Linked DNA regions of Homo sapiens: regions 2, 3, 4 and 5 are each linked to region 1. Evidence: promoter capture Hi-C in 16 types of primary human blood cells and fetal thymus (Javierre and others, 2016). All regions are on one chromosome and are shown on one strand. The core of a region is centred on a gene start or on the middle of the fragment in contact, and the rest is flanking DNA. Distances in the headings are between cores, read along the strand shown.

Region 1 (2,759 bases), core at 1-2,500:
TCGAGCCACCGCGCTGGCCTCTTTTTGCATTCTTGCTATAAAATTGGTATTTGTATCTTCCTCCCATTCTGCGCTCCCCCAACCCTGCAGGAAGGTGGATTCTTCAAGGGAACTGGAGAGAAGAGAAGCACATTCATGTATTTCCACATTCAGCCTCCATCTCACGAGTTACACCATTCCCAGCACGTCACCACCCCCAGACCTTTGGTTACCAGCCTGGGGGCAGAGGATAAGGACGTCATTCAAAAATAGAGAGATTCTCAAGCCTCCAGAGTGCGGGGGCCCAGCCGAGCATGCTGGCGGCTTCCAGGGAGGTGGCCACGCCCCAGGGGAAGTGGTTGCATGGAGGAAGAATCTCAGAGGAGGCTTGGACGTGGTAGAGCAACGCTAGTCCTGTGTTAGGACTGGCTAGTCCGTCCTGCAGGGATGAGGGGCAGAGCCTCAGCAGAAGTCCAGGCCAGTGTCCCCCCTCCAGCATAAGAGCCCCCCACTCCCACAGGGCGGAGGAACCACTGTGGTGGCGGAGCTTATTTCCCAGCAGCCCCGCGGGATGAGACCCAAACGAGAAGTTAGGGTGAGTTTGGAGGACATAAAGTGAGCTGGCTTCCCGTATACTGGCTGTGTGGAGTAATGTTCACGGCAACAGATTTCCATCTCCTCAGCCTCAGGCCCAACCCTGCTACCCCAGCCATACTCAGAGGCTCTGGAAATCTTACCTGGAGGAGACTCTTCTGTTACCACCAAGCCAGGAAGTTTCATGGCTTGGGAAGACCAAGAGGAAGTCCACCTCCCCCTCTCCTGCACCTGGAGTCTCCCATGTGCACGGAGGCCACGCCCCCACCCCGCCCTCAGGTGGCATCAGCCCAGGATCTGACCCTGGACTGGCTCACACTCAGTTGCCTCTGGCCAGTGCAGGGCTCAGCCAGGGATGGCTTCTAGCTGACAGTGGGAGGAATTAATTCATCTGACCGGAATATTCTTTTCTCTTCTGGGCTGTTGGTTTTTCAAGTGCAACAAAGATTCCATACAGCTCCAAGGAAGGAGCCAAGAAAAACATTCTGTGCCAAAGTGAGATCCTGGAAGTGAAACCCCGGAATAAAGCTGAAAAACGGGCTCCAGTTGGGTGCCAGGAAATGCAGGACTGGAATGTGACTTGACTTCCGGCAGCGCGCAGGTGCTCCCGGGTCACCTGCTTTGAGGTCCAGCCTCCTGCCCTGCCTCAGGTGACCACATGACCACTGTGGACTTTGCCCTGAAACCTTCTGGGAGGAGAAGAGGCCTGACCTTGGCGCTGGGGTCCAGTGGGCATTGCTCTGGTCCGAGGCTGCTGCTCTTGACCTCTGCTCTGCGGCTGTTTTCCATTGGAGTAGAGGCTCCTCCTGTCCTGTCCTGCCTGTGGAGGGAAGCAAACCTTCCCCTGGACCAGAGAGAGGAGAAAGCGGAGACAGGTAGCAACGCTGTGGACTGGTGATGACAGGCTCTTCAGCTCCCTGCAAGTGACCGGGCCTGGGGAACAGGTGAGTCATTGTTTAAACCTCTGTGCCCTTTGTGGAGTGTCTGCCTGTGTGTGTGTGTGTCTCTGCTTCTCTGTGTGTGAGTCTCTGTGTGTCTGTGTGTGTGCTCACGTGTTTGTACCCATGTCTGTATTTGTTTGTGTCTGTGCATGTGCCCATGTGTGTATAATCAAAGGACAAAGCTGGGGCGGAGACTTCCTAGTTCAGATTTCTGATGGCTCACTAAGTCGGATTCCCAGAAGGAGATTCTTATTTGCATTTTTCTTCGGGAAAGTTCCGGTTTTAAGGTCTTGAAAAAAAAAAACACAAAAAACTTCTGGTAATGAGAAGAACTCTTAAAGAAATCCATTTCAAATGACATCAACATTCCCAATTTAATACCCAGTGATATCTAGGAAGCTTGTCAGGTTTTCTTGTAAACTCCTTTTTACAATCTACATTGTGTTTTCTGTATCAGATGGCTGTATTCTGAATGCAATGTACAGGTGTACCTCTCGTAATCTCAATATTCTTCACAGGCCCCAGGCAAGGGTGACACAGGATCACAGTTGCCGATAGACTCATCAATCAGACCCTTCCCTGGAATGGCCCCTTCCCCGCAAAAAAGACTAATGTGGGATTTGCTCTCCGTTTTTTTTCCCTTTAGTGGAAGGGAGGTGCAAGAGATTAAAAAGCCCCAAGTTAAGATTACTAGAGAAGCGCCAGTCTTGAATATGGTGTTCCTGAAAACATCTTTGTCTTCAACAACCTAATAACATCTTTCACTACTAATAACCCCATCTTGATTAAATTCTGGAGGTGGGGGTCAGGTGCCACACTTTTAATTTTCTCTTTGGACAGAAGGCTCCAACCTCTCATTATTGAAAGCTTACAACACTCAATCACACAAAAAGTTATATAAGAAAATGTTTACTGCAGTCTTATTACAGAGAAAAAATTAAAACTAAGTAAAAATCCAGTATTAGGAAAATGGTTCAGCAAGTTGAGATAGTTGTAGAAATGTTATATGTCCATTAAACATGATTTTGAAGCAATGTGTGAGACTGCCTTTGGTATTAAGTATTTCTTACCCATCGGATAATAATTTTATGTTAAAACTATGGGTTTTGGTTTGTTTTTAGGAGTCATAGAAAAAAACTAGAAGTAGGCAAAAATACCATTTGTGGTTGTATTACGGGGGTGGAGTTATGGGTAGCTGCTTCTTTTATATTGACACTTGTATGTTTATAGTAAAATAACCTTTTT
Region 2 (4,099 bases), core at 1,030-3,529, 490 kb after region 1:
TATATATCCCCCAATTGCTTAGTTTTGAAATATAAGGAAATATGTACATATATATAATTGTAATCATTCTCCTTTTGTTACCCTCAAAATAACCATATAAACTACATGTGCTTTCTATGTTCTCACTCTGGAGATCATTCCAGTTTAGTATAGAGATCTTCACTCCTTTTACACCTGCGTAGTCTACACTGCTGTTTATTCAAACAATCCCCTATTAATGAATATTTGGATTGACTCTAATCTGCTTTTAAAAAATAACCATGGATACAATTTGTACTTAATACCTGGAAGTTAAAAAAACTGGCACTGTCATTCTCTTGATCACTCTCCTGATCCTCTGACTTCTTGAATTCCCATTTCCTCAACTGTAAAACAAGGAATTTTAATATGACTTACCTATCCGGGTTAAATAAAATTGCAATTCAAAAAGTATTCCCATATATGTTAAGAAAAACTGAAATAGCCACTAAAATGCATTCAAAATAAATAAATTATATAATTATCACTACACAGATTCACCATACAACTCATTTCTACTTAAGAGATTCATATAGACACAATGACAAAATAGATTGTGTCCACAGAAAGATCGAGAGTGAAATTTCCAGAAACTATCTTAGATGAAATAATTGAAGAATTCAGTTAAATATTTATTGAACAAATGCAGAGTAAATGAACTAAGGGCTGTTATAACCTTAAGTTACAACAAACAACTTCAAATATTCAGAGGGCTGTCACACAGAGAATGAAAGACTTGCTCAGTATTTCTCCAAAGGGCAGAACTTGAGCCAAGCGATAAATATAAGCAACCAATGGGCTGCAGGATAGTTGTACAAAGTGTATCATGTATCTTCATAGCTTCTTTGCCCATATAATGCATTCCACACTTAAGTTTCTCCTTCTAAAAGGCGACAGCACAAGTTAATATGTCTCATAAATGTCTTAAATAAGTTGCATTTTCATGGCAAGCCCTCCACTGCCAGCAATGGATATACTCACACTATTGGAAAAAATCTAAAGTTAACAAACTGGTTTAGTATGGAAATGGTCTATTTGTTCCTCAGCTATGTTTCTGTATCTTACATTAGTGGCTCTCAGGAGGTGGGGGGTGAAAAGAGAGCATGTTCTCCAAAGAGGGTGAATCATAATCCCCAGTGATTCAGATACTGTGCCTGGGGACAATCTTTCTTCAAGTCCAAATGAATCATTATAATTATCAACCAATGGTACATATAAGAGTACGGCATGTGCTGGGACAGAGAAAAGACAGTTGACAAACACTATTCTACATGAAACAGGAAATCTTATTTTATGAGTCACTAGAAAACTAACTGTAATACTGACAGGCTCCATCCAGATTATTAAATACTACAAAATGAGAACTGTTTCAACAACTATTCAGCATAACGTTTATGGACAAAATGTATATAGTATATCTTATATTCTATATGTATTTTATCACATAGTAAGGAATGCTGAGGTGCTTAAGCCATCCAATAAATTGAAAATACAAACTTTACATTTCTACGTTTGTCAGTATACAGGATTCTGAAGATGAATCTTGAACTCAGAGTGATAAATCAGTTTTCAAGGAAAGCCACATAATCCGTCAGTCTGGCTAACTGCTGTTCATTGGGTATTGGGGGAACTGGAGCAGGCTCTGTATGTTAAAGAAACAAACACACTTCATGTTACATACCACAGTAACAAAGCTTTGGCCCCAACACCTACCTCCCCTAATGCCTTCAATTTTTAACAGTAAGTTAACTTTCTTAGATTTGTCCTGGTTTTAGACAAAATCTTACATCATAGAGGCTTGGACATTTTTGAAAAGCAAGCCAAGAAGTTGCAACTTTTATGAGTATGGTTTTACCTAACTGCTAGTAAAGGCATGTCTCATGTTGTTGTTACTGAAGTATTCTATGTAAAGGTTAAAGACACTTTTATCATGCAACATGTCTTTTAAAAGATCACAGCTCTTCTTGAAAACATCCTTACCCATGCAACATTAAATTCAAGAAATAGAGTGCTTCCCATGCCCCAGACATCACTGAAGAATATTAAATTGTCAACAAACCAAAAAAAAAAAAAAAAAAAAGAAAACCCACAAAGAACCTCAAGGAATTTACATTCCAACATTTAAATTACTACACGTCAGCCTGGGGACGCCTTCTGAATAACAGTACTGGTGAACAGCTCTGGCAGGCCTCCCTGACATGAGAATAAGAAGGCTCTGCAGCTGGCCCAGAGGAGGGCACCGCCTCAAGGCAAGCTCTGGGGGAGCCCAGTTTCACTCTTGTAACCAGATGTATTACTACGCATTTATGAAATTTAACCTCTGTTTACAAGGTAAGAAATAGATACACACACTCACACACACATATACATATATACTACAAAAAAGAAATTAGGAACAATGAGACATTAAAAAATGTGCATATGAAAATACATACCTGATAAGGGAATAAACTTGTTAAAGGAAACATCCAGGGCCCCTGCAACTAAATTCAAAAAAAAAATGTACAGCTCAATTTACAGAAGTCATTGTAAAGATCTTTCATAGAACATGCTATTTTCAGCACAACATGCATTTAACGGCCATTTATTTCTCAAACAGGGATAACAACTGTGCTCCATTATAATTCTTTATTATATTACTCTTCCCCCACTATCTCACTTGACTGGGATCATGTCTTCTCACTCTTTGTAACTCAAAGGGCTGAGCACATTGAGAATCCTTTACTGTATGTTCAGCAATGTCTAAACATAGGCATTCCGAGTAGGTGGAAGGAAATTTGGGCTGACGTGGATGAAGGCGGGTTTATGGAAGTGGGCATTAAGCTTGGCTCTAAAGACCTGGCAGAAAAGACACTCCTGGTCAGCAGGAGGAAGAGAAACTATCAGGCGGGAATGAGTGTGGCTCACTTCCAACAGGAAGACTGAGGGGCTGGGAATTCAGATAAAGACAATGAGGGCAGGTCATAGAAATTAAGGCCTTAAAAGGAGGGCTAGAGAAGTTAACTCTGTGAAAGTGGAAGCCACAGGAAAAGTGCCTGTATGACTTGAGTGCAAACAGAAAAGGGGGGCAGTTGAATATTTAAACATTTTTTTTTAATACAGACAACAGCTTGGATATGAAGGATAAGCTCAGTTACAAATGGCTCCATAAAAGGATGGAGATTAATATTTAGTAAAAACTAAGGTGTAAGGACCATGAAAAACCTACGTAAAATCATTTATATACAGGAAATACATTTTTAAGAGTTTAAACTAGGTGATCCTTTCTACCCCGTCTACTACGCTTTATTTAAAATGAGTTATTTCCATTGTGTTAGTATAGCCGAATTTTACATCCAATTATCAAAAACCAAAGACTGAAAACCTGAAGCAGTCTTAGAAGAGTCCAGTGCTGCGTAAATGGGTGAAAGCTCCACCTACCTGGCTTTCTGGGCAGAACCATTCTTGTGGTGGAATCAGCTTGCCATCCTTGTTCTAATATGCCTAAAAAAGTATATTACACATAAAGATCCGGAAAGAATAAAACACCCCACAAAATCCACAACTTGTCCATGACATTAGTTGTACAGAAGACCTGATGTGTTTAGTATAACCCGTCATATGCATTTTTACTAGAAAGGTATATTACAAAGAGCATGGAAACTTATTATTGAAATATTTCTGAAACAGGTATCAAAGCCTCATTTTACTCTATTAGGTTGCTATAATCATTAAAAGATGGTTAGTTTTCTGTCAAGAATATATTATAGTATTAACCTAATCAGTATTATTTAAAACAAACAGAAGGAAAACTGATATGGCGCCTTTTGTGACCATCATATCAGTAATAACAAAGATGGCAATAATAAAAACAGCTTCCATATATGGAAGGTTTACCTGTAGGTACCAGACTACGTGCTTTTATAGGGATGATTTTATGTAATCACCACAACTCTATGAAGTGGGATATAGGGCCATCGTTTGACAGGTATGGAAAATAAAGTTGAGGGAAATTCAAGTGATTTGTCCTAAGTCACATAGCCACTAGCATCAGGGACGGGTGGTACCAGCATTCACATCCAGGTGGTCAGCTGAGAATACG
Region 3 (4,099 bases), core at 925-3,424, 470 kb after region 1:
AAAAAATATGGAAGGTAGTTACCAAAAAACATTCAGGAGAAAGAGAATTAAGTACAAGAGCTGGGTGTGTGGGCAGTAAGTAGAGGGAAAGGGGAGCTGGCAAGTTGAACAAGAAGGAAAATGAATGCCACGTGCCTGTGAACAGCTGCTGGGCTCTGTATTCAGTTTGAGCTCTCTACAAGCCAAGGCAAAATGATGGAAGTAACCAATTGTAAGATACACAGTATCCACAAGGCCCTCTCTTGACACCCATATCAGAGAGCAATTTCTCACTTAAAACATTACTTGGTGATACAGGGCACAGCCCTTTCCATATTTCAGTAGAATACACGAGTCGTTTTCTCTGCCTCCTTCTCATACTGTCGCCCCAGAGGCACAGGCCCCAAGCAAGTGCACAGTGAGGGCTGAAATGGAGAGACTGTAAATCCTCAGAGCTGCTGCCCCAAGCATCAGGGTGCTCAAGAATCACTGGGGTCTTGTTAAATGCAGATTTGATTCAGTGTGTCTGGACTGGGGCTTCCAGGCGATGCCCAACTTGTGGTCCAGGAAGCACACTTTGAGAATATTTTTCACAACTGAACCTTTCATAAAACCTGGATACAGAGTGTTTGGGGTTAATTTTCTGATGAGAGCTGGGTGCTCTCACATTCTATGCGGCAGTCAAAGGCAGGGCCACATGGTTTGAATGTGCAGGGCCAACCTAACGGTCTCTGATGATATTAACAGGCTGGACCAGGGCTGGAGCTTGCAGCTAAAGCCACTGCACTTCTCCAAGCAGAGGGGCCATGGCACTGCTCACCCCCTAGCCATTCCCTTATGCCAACACTGCAGGTGACCGGCTTTTATTCTTAGTCGATGTCCAGGATAATTTTGTTAGGTTTTGTATATTTTAATTTTTGCTTAAATTTAGCATACATGTGGATTTGATCATTTAAACTGGTGAGTGACAAGTGTGTGACAAGCCCCTAAAATAACGCCTTGGCTGGGTCTTTTAAATAATTTTTGTTCTCTTCATCCTCACAAAATAACTAATGGGTACTGCGCTTAATACCTGGGTGATGAAATAATCTGTATAAGAAACCCACATGACACAAGCCTACCTATGTAACAAACCTGTACATGTACCCCTCAACTTAAAATAAACGTTAAAAATTGTTCTTAATTATTAGGAATTCAGCCTCTAATTCCCCATAGATTTTCTTCCTTGCCAAGTCTTAGTAAACTTATCCATTCCACTCATATGACAAAAGAACTGACGACTCAAGGGCCAAACAAACTATTTAAAAAGCAAGAACATGAAGAAAACCTTTTTTTCAAAAATATCTAATAACTCAAGAGCACTTCTTCGGCCCTTAGAAAAGACTTATTTAAGCCTTTGAAGGGACTGCGTTTCAGCCAGCAGTGATGGTGATCGGACATTCAAGGAATGAAGTGGTAGGAATGACCCTACACACCAAGTGAGTTATGGCAGCACATTGTAAACAACAAGACACCGGGTGACAGCGAGGAGTGAGAATCAAGCAGATGTTTGGCTCTGGCTAAGCACATGCTTTACACATCTCAACTCAAGAGGGTTTTCAAACACAGCATCAACCCCATGTGTTTGGTTTTCCTTGTCAGAGCCCTTCTGCTATCTTGAGGAAGGGATGGGTGGAAATACAGAAAAGCTGCCCTGCACAGATTCCTGCATCTACATCCACAGCTCCAGTCACATGAAAGACACCAGACGCAGCATCAAAACATTTAGCCAAGATAATGTTGACAATGTAAGATAATGTTGAAAACTAAAGCTTCCTAATCTTTTGAAGTTGGTCCATATTAAATTGCCTCAGGCAAAGTTAAGGCAGTTGAGGCCACACTCCCATATTTCCATTTACATTCTTTGTATTTTATGACAGAAATACATTGAAAATCTTGTTCACCAGTCTGCTAAAAATCAGGGTTATAAGGGGAGACATCCAACAGGCTTAAGGCTCCCAAATGGATTTGGAATTTTTTGGACCTTACTCGATTGACCTCATTCACTGCCCAACCTCACAAACAACCTAATTCAGTTTTCAAACCATGTTATTTAACCGACACAGGATAGCCATGAAGAGGTTCTTATTACCTTATGCATTATTATGCACTGGGCATTTTGCCCTTTGTCCTGAATTGCTCTTCTTAGAGATCAGGTGCAGGTGCACAATTAGGAGAACATTATTCAATCAAAACTGTTTTTGGCAATTCCTCCCATCATGTGACTCACAAGTTAAAAATGGTCCAGTTCCTCTTTCATTTAGAATGAAATCTTTTCCTGCAGCTCCACCCAGGAGAAAAAATCATGATTCACATTCAGGATGCACATATGCTGGTCAGGTGGGTGCACACAACATGCTCATTCAAGTCCACTCATTTCTTAAAAAGATGTCCAAAGACTCCTGGCTTCCCACTATCTCAATTGACCCAGGAGAATGTCATCAATCATTTACATGAATAAAATGTCCACCCTGGTTTTAGCTTGTCTTTAGATATTTGGATAAAACTACACAATCTTTTCCACTAATTTTGAAAGCTTCCTTTACTTAGAGAAGCAACAAATTCAGAGGAAAGTTACTACTTTGCTCAACCACAAATATGATGCAGATTACTCAAAAGTTATTGACTCTAGCAAAACGGCAAACCCTTACCTTTCTCCAACTGCAGTGATAGCAAGGGTTCTCAGGTGAGAGGAAATCCAGGCATGGCATTTGTTAACAAGGAGGTACTTACTCCAGTTCATGGGCTGCTCAGCTAAGAGGCAATAGATGCCTTTCTTCCCCCTGCTTTTCAATGCAGAGTTTAATTGTGGGTTGTAAAAATCCCCCAGACACACTAAAAGCTAGAAGACTCCTGGAAAACTGCTAATCTCTCCAGGAGGTGTATTTGCCCTTGCTGCTATCATTTGGATGGATGGGGGCAGTGGGGATGGATGCTATCAGGTGGAATTCTGTTCTTCCTGCTTTTGCTATAAAAGGTGGAGACAGGTTAAGGGGAGGGGAGTCCTGGTAACTGTCCTAACATAACCAGTGCCTGAACATTCCTTCAAAACAGCCTTGATCAGTGGTTATTGAACTTGGCTTCAACGGTATCTGACTGATGGGATCCTCACACTATCTGAGACCATCTAGACCATCACCAACTGATACGCACAAGTTGTGTGGCTACTGAGCACTTGGAATGTGGAAGTCCAAATTGGGCTGTGCCACAAATGTAAAATACACATGGGATTTCAAAGATGTAGTATAAAGAAAAGAATGTAAAATATCTCATTAATATTTTTGTATTGATGACATGTTGAACTAATAATATTTTTGATTGGCTAAATAAGATTGTTGTTAAAATTAATTTTATCTGTTTTTCTTTTTCACCTTTTTACTGTGGCATCCAGAAAATTTAAAGTTACATATGTGAGGTGTGTCTTCTAACTCTATTAGACAGTGCTGGTCTAGGCAGTTAAATAGCTCTTCTTTGTGTTGAGTCAAAACTGGTCTTTCTAACCTTCTTGATTTTGCCTTCTGAAGCAATAAACAAAATTATTCCACATGGTGGTCAGTCCAATATCTGAAGACAATCATCATCCCCACCCATCTTTTCTTCTCATGCTGAATAGCCTTTCCTTTTGCAAACATTCCTTCTATGACATGTGTTAAAAATTATTTATCCAAAACTTGGAAAATGTCAAAATGATTGTTGTTATCTTTCTGAACAATTTCTTTAATAAGCCCAGTTGACCTTCATTGAGCTCTCTCAGGGAGTGTAACTTTGATTTTACAGGGCTGTAAAACATCTGGTTCCTTATCAGTTACGGATAGTTGCTCTGAGTTTAACTTGCAGAAAGTAGAGAGTGAGAAATGTTCTTATAACCTGAGATGAAAGGCAAAAATTCTGCAAATGGATTTCTGGGAATTATGTGAGGACATTAAACTGAGCTTCTTCTCATGCCCCTGCATCTAGCTGTTGGGGACCTAACTCCATATTGGTTGTGGCTCAGTTTAGTGCATATTCCATCTCTTGGAAGAAAGCATGCCAACCCGTCATGCTAGTACAATTGCTGAGCCTTGAATAGGCCATTCCACCA
Region 4 (4,099 bases), core at 1,050-3,549, 450 kb after region 1:
AATACCACACACTATTTTTCTTACCTGAGGTTCAGTAGTTTATCTTGAGTAAATGCTTCTCAATTTGTTGTATGGCTTTGGTCAATTTTCAGTCCTGAGATGGTTGTTTTTGATAATTTTGTCCAGTTTTATTATTACTTTTTGGGGAGAGGATTTGACAATCTCCTCATTCTGCCATTCTGGAAATGAAGAAGCTGACAAATCTGAAAATTACTGAGCACACTGGCAAATCTCTTAATTGTAGATTTATTTTAAAACATTTCATATAGATTCAGTTGCATACCCAAGTTGTATAACAATTATTGAAACACCAGGACTTAGAAAAATTGTTATTAATATTAGAAAAACTTCTCTTTACATCCTGGAAAATTTATTAGTTCAATGGCTCTCAATCTCCATTGTTTAATCTCTCTCAGACTTTAATCCCTAACTTTAAAAGTGGGTCTGGGGAAGATGGGAGTGCAGAATACTATTATGGTAAAAATTACATGCAATATTTATGCAAATGTGTTTTGAAAATTGAAATATTCTATACAAGTGTTACTGTCTTAAATGTGTTGGGGGCTATGCTGGGTGCTGAGGAATCAGAGTGGACAATACGGAGGTAGTCTCTGACCTCATGGAGTTGACTGCCTGGTAGGGCAACCGGACAGTAATTATGTATGTTGGAATTTGAATACAACCATAAACAATAACTCGTTCTTCTCCTTTAAAATTTAAGAGATAAGGCACAGGTGTCAGATGGAAATAAAAAAATATGTTTTATTATTGATAAAACTGGAAAGGCTGACTCAATCTGTGCCCACAATAGGGATCCCTAATATGTACTCCTACTATCCCCCTCAAGTGCTCCCATTCAGCCAACTCAGGAAGAGCTGGTGAAGGGTGAGTAGAGGAGGAGAATGTCCATAGGAGGAGATGCCCCAAAGAGAGGAATACTGTTGGGGTCTGAACTGCTTGGATGCATTTTTTTTTTCAATCCATCTCTCCTCAGACTATTGGAAGTGAGAGGAGAAGATTCCGTTAAGAGGGTGCCTGAGAAACTGCAAAGCTTAACGGTTAAGCAGAGGAGGGAGGAGTCTGTCTAAAAGGCAAACCAAGAGTGTTTAGTTCCAGAAGCCTAGATAAGAGATGGTTTCTACACACAAGAGTGTAGTCAGTAGTGGAGACTGCCACAGAGAGACCCAGCATGATGGGAAGGACCACAGGTGTCCACTGGATTGACTGAGGACAACAGTGGGAGCAATTCCAGTGAAGTTATGTAGGCAAATACTAGATTGAAGTGAACTGAGGAAGGAGTGAGATATGAGAACGTGGGGACTGTAAGTGAAGACAATTGTTTAGGGCAAGTTTATCTGTGAAGGGAGCAGGAAGACAGGACAGTACCTGCAGGGAATCAGATGGGAGTGGTGGGGGGTACAGCCTGTGTAGAGGATTATTTGTACTGGTGTTGGTGGTAGTTTTGATTGGTGTTGTTGATGGGGATTTCTTAGGTGCTTTTAAATATGGGAATGGCATGAACTGTTGAAAAGGGGAAAATACAAGCAAAATGTCAAAGACAGACAGCGGTGGGGGTCGACATGTTAGTGGTCCTTGGAATGAAGAAGTGGGATGGGATCCAGAGCAGGCAAAGAGGAGCTAGCTGCAGTCAGAAGAGGGACCACTCTTTCATTGTAATGGGGAAAAGGAAGAGGAGATTTTAAAAAAGACACAAGGGGGAGTGCCGATTTGGTGGTGCAAAGGTGAGAGTGCTCCATGTGACGGTTCCTATTTTCTCTGAGAAGGATGCAAGGTCATACATTGAGAGTAAGGGGTTGAACAGGGTCAGAGGATGGAGTAGACTGGAGACCATAAAGCCAAGTGAGGGAGATTCCCTCCAGACACTCTAAAGTCTGTGCTTCCACCTCTGTTCTTCTTTAAAACCACATATCATGGGTACCTATGACACTGATTTTCACAGCCAGTTTTTTTAAGTGCAAGAATTTTGCAATATGATATAAATTTGATGAATCATTGAATAGTTCTTTGTGTTCTGTTTCTCATGCTCCATCACTAACCCAGCCAAGATTTTCATTAAAAAAAAATTTCCAGACGTTGTTTATCAATCCAGGAGCTTGGCAAGAAAGGTCCACCTCTGTTCACACATGGGACAGACAAGACCAGTTTCTGACTGCCAGTAACTTTTACAAAAGGTGGGTATGAAGCTTCTCTCTCAAATTCTAATAATAAGAAGAACAATAATGTGTCAGATTTTATGTTCCAAGGACACATATTTGTACTCACATGTATTTATCCCATTTCATCCCTCCCAATGGGATGTGGGGTCTAGTTTCCCCCACTCAAATCTGGGCAGGGACTGTGATTGCCTGACCAATGGAGTATGGCAGAAGCTTGATGTTCCTGCTGGTTCTCTCTCTCTCTTTCTCTCTCTGGGTGTCAGGATGCTCACCTTTGGAACCAAGACACTATTATGTGAGGAAGCCCAAGCCACATGGAGAGACCCACACGGAGGAACAAGGCCTTTGCCAACAGGCAGCACCAATTAGCTAACTACACAAATGAGCCACCTTGAAGGTGACTCCTCCAGCCCCACTCTAGCCTTCGATGACTGCAATCCTGGCTGACATTTCACTGAACCTTCCTCAGAAAGCTCAGGCCAGAGCCACCCAGCCAAGGTGCCTGGGATTCCTGATCCACAAGAAACCATTTGTGGTAATAGTTATATTTTGTTGTTCTAAGCCCCTATGTTTTGGGGTAAGTCACTAGGATTTGTTTTGTAGCATCAGATAACTGAAATGAATGATAATAACAAATTTAACAAATACTATTTAAACATCTACCTCTGCCTGGGTTCTCAGTGCCTAGCACTGAATCTAGGGGAACTAGTTTGAAGTAGTAATCCTGAAATCACTAAGCTACGGTGCCTTACACACATCACATGTAATCCTCACAAAAATCTTATGCAGTAGGTGCTGAGATTAGACCTATTTTAACAGATGAGGAAACTGAGGTCCAGAAGTCACACAGCTGGTAAGTGGCTGGCCTGGCACAAGAACGGATGCATTGCTATCTCTGAGTCATATCTAAGATGATCTTCAGGATCTAAAGATATCCTTTCCCATTCCTCAGACTTCTTACCACAATCTGTCCCAGCTCAGGATACATACAGGTGAAGGATGGCATGTCACCAACTAAGGGGGATTATCCTATGAGCTTCTGGATAACTTGCCACCTTTGCCCTTGCCCTGTCAACTAACTGCCCCACTGCCAGTCCACCTCAATGTTGCTGTGCCTTTGAGGGTGTTGTCTGTGTCTGAATTAAGAAGGTAGACTGTGGGAAGAAGAAGACAGATCCTATAGGGAGCATCATGCATTAGGAAACAGAACACAGCTCTCAGGGTCCCCCATTGGTGATTTGTGCTTTAGCTGATGTAAGCTGAGCCACTCAGAGCACCCACGGCTTCCACCCACCCATGTGCTAAACCCCACCACCCTTTCCAAAATTGTTCCACAGCCCCATGCCCTTAGGAGCCTAGCATTCCAAGCTTGAGGCTCTTTGGGGCCTCCACTTTCTTCCCAGGAGGGGTTTTCCAATACATGCCCAATATGCACGAGTTGGTACATCCTTCCTTCCATCCAACCCATCTATGCAGTATGTTGAAGACACTTTCTGAAGCCTGTGGAGATCAACCTTCTCTGTTTCCCAGCACTAATTCACTTTTCAGCACTCTTCCTACATTTGTTCATTTTCCATGGGAATTTTGGAGAGAGAAAGTTTGACTTATGGGCTTGCCATCTTGAACCATGAATTGTAGATTTTTAATGGTAAAAGTATCTCCTCTGATGAGTAAGTTAATTTGGGATGGAGACCAGGGTTTTGGGCAGCCTGGCACAGAGAAGAGAAGCTGGGAGCGGCCCTGCCCAGGGCCTTTCTGACCTCACACCAATTTTCCACTTGGCTGCAAAGTAGCAGCTCTCCCAAGAGAACATGAGGACCTGGGGGCAAAGACTTGGGGTGTGGCCATGGTTGGAAACTCTAGCTCTCTAGATGGTTTTGCCTTTCACTGTGGTTAGAAAGGATACATAAATAAAGAGTACT
Region 5 (4,099 bases), core at 718-3,217, 430 kb after region 1:
GGAAAGGCAGATCCCATCCATCCCACAGCAGTCAGGAAAGGGATGAGCGGAAGAGGGAAGTTAGGAACCCACAAACCAGATGATAGGATTAAACGGGATCAGTGTCCATAAACATGGATCAAATTCACTTTTAAAAGAGGCTCATACTGATTTCGACATTAAAACACAGCATGAGAAAAGAAATACACGGGCCAATCTCACTTTCAACAATTTTACGGGAAGTTATCTCAAACAGAAAGAGAACAGACTATCCATGTCTTCTGAACTGTTCCAGAAACCAGACGGAGTGGGAACATGTTCTAACTCATTTTATAAGTTAGGTCACTGAAATCAGATGAGTATGATACAAAAGAAATTATCTCACTTATGAACATGAAAACAAAAACTCTAAATGACACATTAGTAAACCAAATCCATCAATGTGTTTAAAAGATTTTTTAAAGTATAATTAAGTGATATGTATACCAATAATACAAGGGTAGTGAAACATTACAAAATTATTAATATCATTCACTACATTATCAGATGAAACGAGAGGATCATATGATCAACTCAATATATATAGAAAATACATTTAGTAAAACTTATCACCAGGAATACAAGAAAATTTCCTTAACCTGGTCAAGGCTTTAGGAGATCACAAGAAACCCCACATTAAATGGTGAGGCTATGGAAATACTCTCTTTAATTCCCTTAAATGTCAGAGACAAAAAAAACATTAACCTACTGTCTCAGTTTCTATTTATCATTTTACTGGAAGTTCCAGACATTGAAATAGCAAAAGAAAAATTAAATAAGAGGTAAAGAAATTGAAAAAGAAGAAACCAAATTGTCATTATTGGCAGAAGAAATAATCACTGACATATGAAATCAAAAGATTCTATGTACTATTATTCTTAAAAGATGAATTCAGCAAGCTCTGGGATAGCAGATCAATATTCAAAAAGCAACAACATTCCTGCACACCAGAAAAGACAAATCACAGAATGTAACAAAGTTAAATACTGATTGCACTCACGGTAACATAAAGTTCAAAAGCTTCAAGGAATAAGTAAAAATAAAAGATGTTTGGCAAGAAAATAATAAAATTGCATTGGAGGATATCAAACATGCCTTAAATAAATGGTGAGAGGGAGAGAAAACCAGAGAAGGAGAAAAACTATATTCACGGATAGGAAGATTCAAATTATCTCCCAGATTAGTGTGTAAATTTAATACTAGGGCAATACAACTCTTAACAGGGTTTTTAATAAATGTGACAAGTTGATTCTAAAGTTTGCATGAAAAAGTAAATAGGCCGGGCATGGTGGCTCACGCCTGTAATCCCAGCACTTTGGGAGGCCAAGGCAGGTGGATCACCTGAGGTCAGGAGTTCAAGACCAGCCTGGCCAACATGGTGAAACCTGTCTCTACTAAAAATATAAAAAATTACCTGGGCATAGTGGCAGGTACCTGTAATCCTAGCTACTTGGGAGACTGAGGCAGGAGAACCACTTGAACCTGGGAGGCAGAGGTTGCAGTGAGCCGATGTCATGCCATTGCACTCCAGCCTGGGCAACGAGAGCGAAATTCCGTCTCCCCCCACCAAAAAAAAAAGTAAATAGCCCCAAATGGCCAAACTATTTAGAAAAGAATGCGAAGAAAGGACTCACCCAAATATTGAGACCTAGTATAAAGCTCTAACATTTCAAACAGTGAGTTTCTGACTCCAGTAAATATAAATATTGCTGATGGAGCAGAACCAAGAGCCAAGAAAGATACCCACACACACACAGGAACTTAGATATGACCACGATGGTATTTGAAGATCAGTGAGAGAGGAACAGAAAGTTTAGAAAATAGAGCAAGGACAACTAGATCAAAGACTTAAATGTAAATCGTATAACTTGAAAACTTTTAGAAGAGACTAAAAGAAAATATTGTAACTTTAGAGCAAAAGAACACTTCTTAAAGAAAACACACATGGAGAAAAAGAAAGATAAATCTGACTAACTAGAAATTGAAAACTTCTTCACAACAAGGAAATGCCAAAGTTAAGTCACTGTTTAAGGGAAGCTACATAAAACATTTATGATCTAATCAAAGATTAGTGTTTGGATTCTATAAAGAAATCCTTCAGGCCAGGTGCAGTGGCTCACACCTGTAATCCCAGCACTTTGGGAGGCCGAGGTGGGCAGATCACGAGGTCAGGAGATTGAGACCATCCTGGCTAACACAGTGAAACCCCATCTCTACTAAAAATACAAAAAATCAGCCAGGCGTGGTGGCGGGCACCTGTAGTCCCAGCTACTCGGGAGGCTGATGCAGGAGAATGGCATGAACCTGGGAGGCAGAGCTTGCAGTGAGCCGAGATCACACCATTACACTCCAGCCTGGGCAACAGAGGGAGACTCCGTCAAAAAAAAAAAAAAAAAAAGAAAAAAAAGAAATCCTTCAAAATAGGTATAGATGGATGGGTGGATAGATAGATAGAAATAGATATACTGAAAGATAAACACTCTAATAGAAAAACAGACAAAAAGCATCAGTAGTCAGTTGATAGCAGAATATACCAACATGGCTAACAATCTTTTGAAAAGATATGCAGCCTCACAAGTTGTTAATTAAAACAAGCTGAGATACTACTTCTCATCTTTCCAGATGGCCAAATTTTAAGACGGGGCACTAAAAAAAACAGAATAATCAAACAAAACTAGTTTTGCAAAGGTTTTCAACTAGTTCTCAAATATCATCAGACCCACAAATACTGTATGTGGCCTTAGTGTACCCGCCACTGAAATTGTTGAATAGGATGCCCTGGATCTACCACTGCTCCTGTTTTTACTCCTTCCCTGACATGCCCTGTCCCTCCCTGAAGCCCCACAACTACCAGCCTAGGTTCTCAAAACAAAGCTTTTAAAAAAAATATCATGCCCTGTTGGGGGCAGGTACTAACTTGTTCCATTTTGGGACAACCACCCTTCTCCAGATGAGGACAGATGACCTTCCAGGTAGCATGGTCACAGGCAGAAGGGCTCTCCAGTAACCTCATTCAAAGGAATGTCTAGAGTGGGGGTTTCAGACCCTAGCACCACCCGTGAAGCAGATCTTTGAAAGACAGGAGATTCTTTGGGAAAACCTCTTAAATCGCACACCTAAGCTGAGGGCTGTCATGGAGCCTGGCCTCCCTCCTCTGGCAGCTGCTGTCCACGTCGCAGAGCCACAGAAGGTCCAGGCATCACCAGGCTCCCATCCCAGCTCCCATTGTTCATTAGTAAGGGACTCCTGGGTGTCCTGCCCACCTTCCTTCCTAAAGCTCCCATTACAGAGGGAGAAGACGTTTTTGGCTTTTCAATCTAACTTTGCTTCTTTCCTGCTCCTGCCCTGCCAGATGCTGTCATCCCTCTGGACACATCACGCCTCTCCTCCAGATCCTAGCCTCTTGGGGGAGGTCTTTCATCATTTGGACACACTGAGGAGGCTCCAGAAGGAAACAGTGTGCAGCATTTGGACCCTGCGGTGAAGTTGCTGGGTCAAAGCTGGATCTGCCGTTTCCCGATTCCTCCTGATGACTTCTCATGTGATGTTGGCTGGATATTCATCGTTTATTTGTTCCAAGTTTCTGTACTAAACTATATGGGCCAGTTCTCAATTAAAATCAGCTGTCATGTGGCATGTCTTCTTCCAGTTTTCACAGAACCTAGGGATGGGCCACCACAGGGGTGTGGGAAAGTGGTACAAAGGTGTTTGTGATTAGTCTCCATCGGGAACCTCCCTCAGGAGCCCATATCCTTTCCTCCAAACCTCTCTCTTCACTCAACAAATGACTCTAACTTAGTCCTCATTTTGGTTGTTTACAAAACAGTCTGATAGAAGAGAATATAAAATGAAGGAACTAACGATCATCCATAATTCAAAATAATCAAAGGAAAACGTTTTAAATCTTTTGGAGCATTTTTCTTTCTCTGTGGGAACTGCCCCACAGCGTGTATGAGAACTGCACCTCACATTTCTCTTTATGAGCCTGAAGTTCTCCTCTACACCCCTAGGCTCCCCACACCACAGCCCCCTCCGCATCACAGCTATTGGCTTAGCCTCTGGGCCTCACTGCTGGCCTTGG

Evidence for each region. The method cuts DNA at HindIII sites, captures the fragments that hold promoters and counts their contacts. A CHiCAGO score of 5 or more calls a contact.
Region 2: a fragment that was not itself captured here is called in contact with the fragment with the promoter of RAB17 in region 1 in 1 of 17 cell types (megakaryocytes); the score reaches 5.1 in megakaryocytes.
Region 3: a fragment that was not itself captured here is called in contact with the fragment with the promoter of RAB17 in region 1 in 1 of 17 cell types (megakaryocytes); the score reaches 5.0 in megakaryocytes.
Region 4: a fragment that was not itself captured here is called in contact with the fragment with the promoter of RAB17 in region 1 in 1 of 17 cell types (fetal thymus); the score reaches 5.3 in fetal thymus.
Region 5: a contact is called between a fragment that was not itself captured here and the fragment with the promoter of RAB17 in region 1, in 2 of 17 cell types (fetal thymus and M1 macrophages). The highest score is 5.1, in fetal thymus.

Annotation. Positions count from the first base shown.
Region 1 is chr2:237,589,225-237,591,983 of GRCh38, reverse strand. It overlaps RAB17 (RAB17, member RAS oncogene family), which reads left to right and starts at 1,250. Exons shown (of 6, transcript NM_022449.4): 1 at 1,250-1,517. RAB17-DT (RAB17 divergent transcript) reads right to left here and starts at 824. Exons shown (of 3, transcript NR_187201.1): 1 at 717-824; 2 at 1-112. The HindIII fragment of the contact is 11,150 bases long and covers 1-1,915 here.
Region 2 is chr2:237,095,224-237,099,322 of GRCh38, reverse strand. It overlaps COPS8 (COP9 signalosome subunit 8), which reads right to left. Exons shown (of 8, transcript NM_006710.5): 6 at 3,439-3,501; 7 at 2,454-2,501; 8 at 1-1,660. The coding sequence ends at 1,581. Among named protein-coding and RNA genes, the nearest start is that of COPS8, 11 kb to the right of the region's middle. The HindIII fragment of the contact is 1,129 bases long and covers 1,715-2,843 here.
Region 3 is chr2:237,116,402-237,120,500 of GRCh38, reverse strand. No RefSeq gene overlaps it. Among named protein-coding and RNA genes, the nearest start is that of COPS8, 33 kb to the right of the region's middle. The HindIII fragment of the contact is 764 bases long and covers 1,793-2,556 here.
Region 4 is chr2:237,141,813-237,145,911 of GRCh38, reverse strand. It overlaps LOC124906127 (a long non-coding RNA gene), which reads left to right. Exons shown (of 2, transcript XR_007088143.1): 1 at 1-2,192; 2 at 2,441-4,099. Among named protein-coding and RNA genes, the nearest start is that of COPS8, 58 kb to the right of the region's middle. The HindIII fragment of the contact is 186 bases long and covers 2,207-2,392 here.
Region 5 is chr2:237,160,823-237,164,921 of GRCh38, reverse strand. No RefSeq gene overlaps it. Among named protein-coding and RNA genes, the nearest start is that of COPS8, 77 kb to the right of the region's middle. The HindIII fragment of the contact is 1,854 bases long and covers 1,041-2,894 here.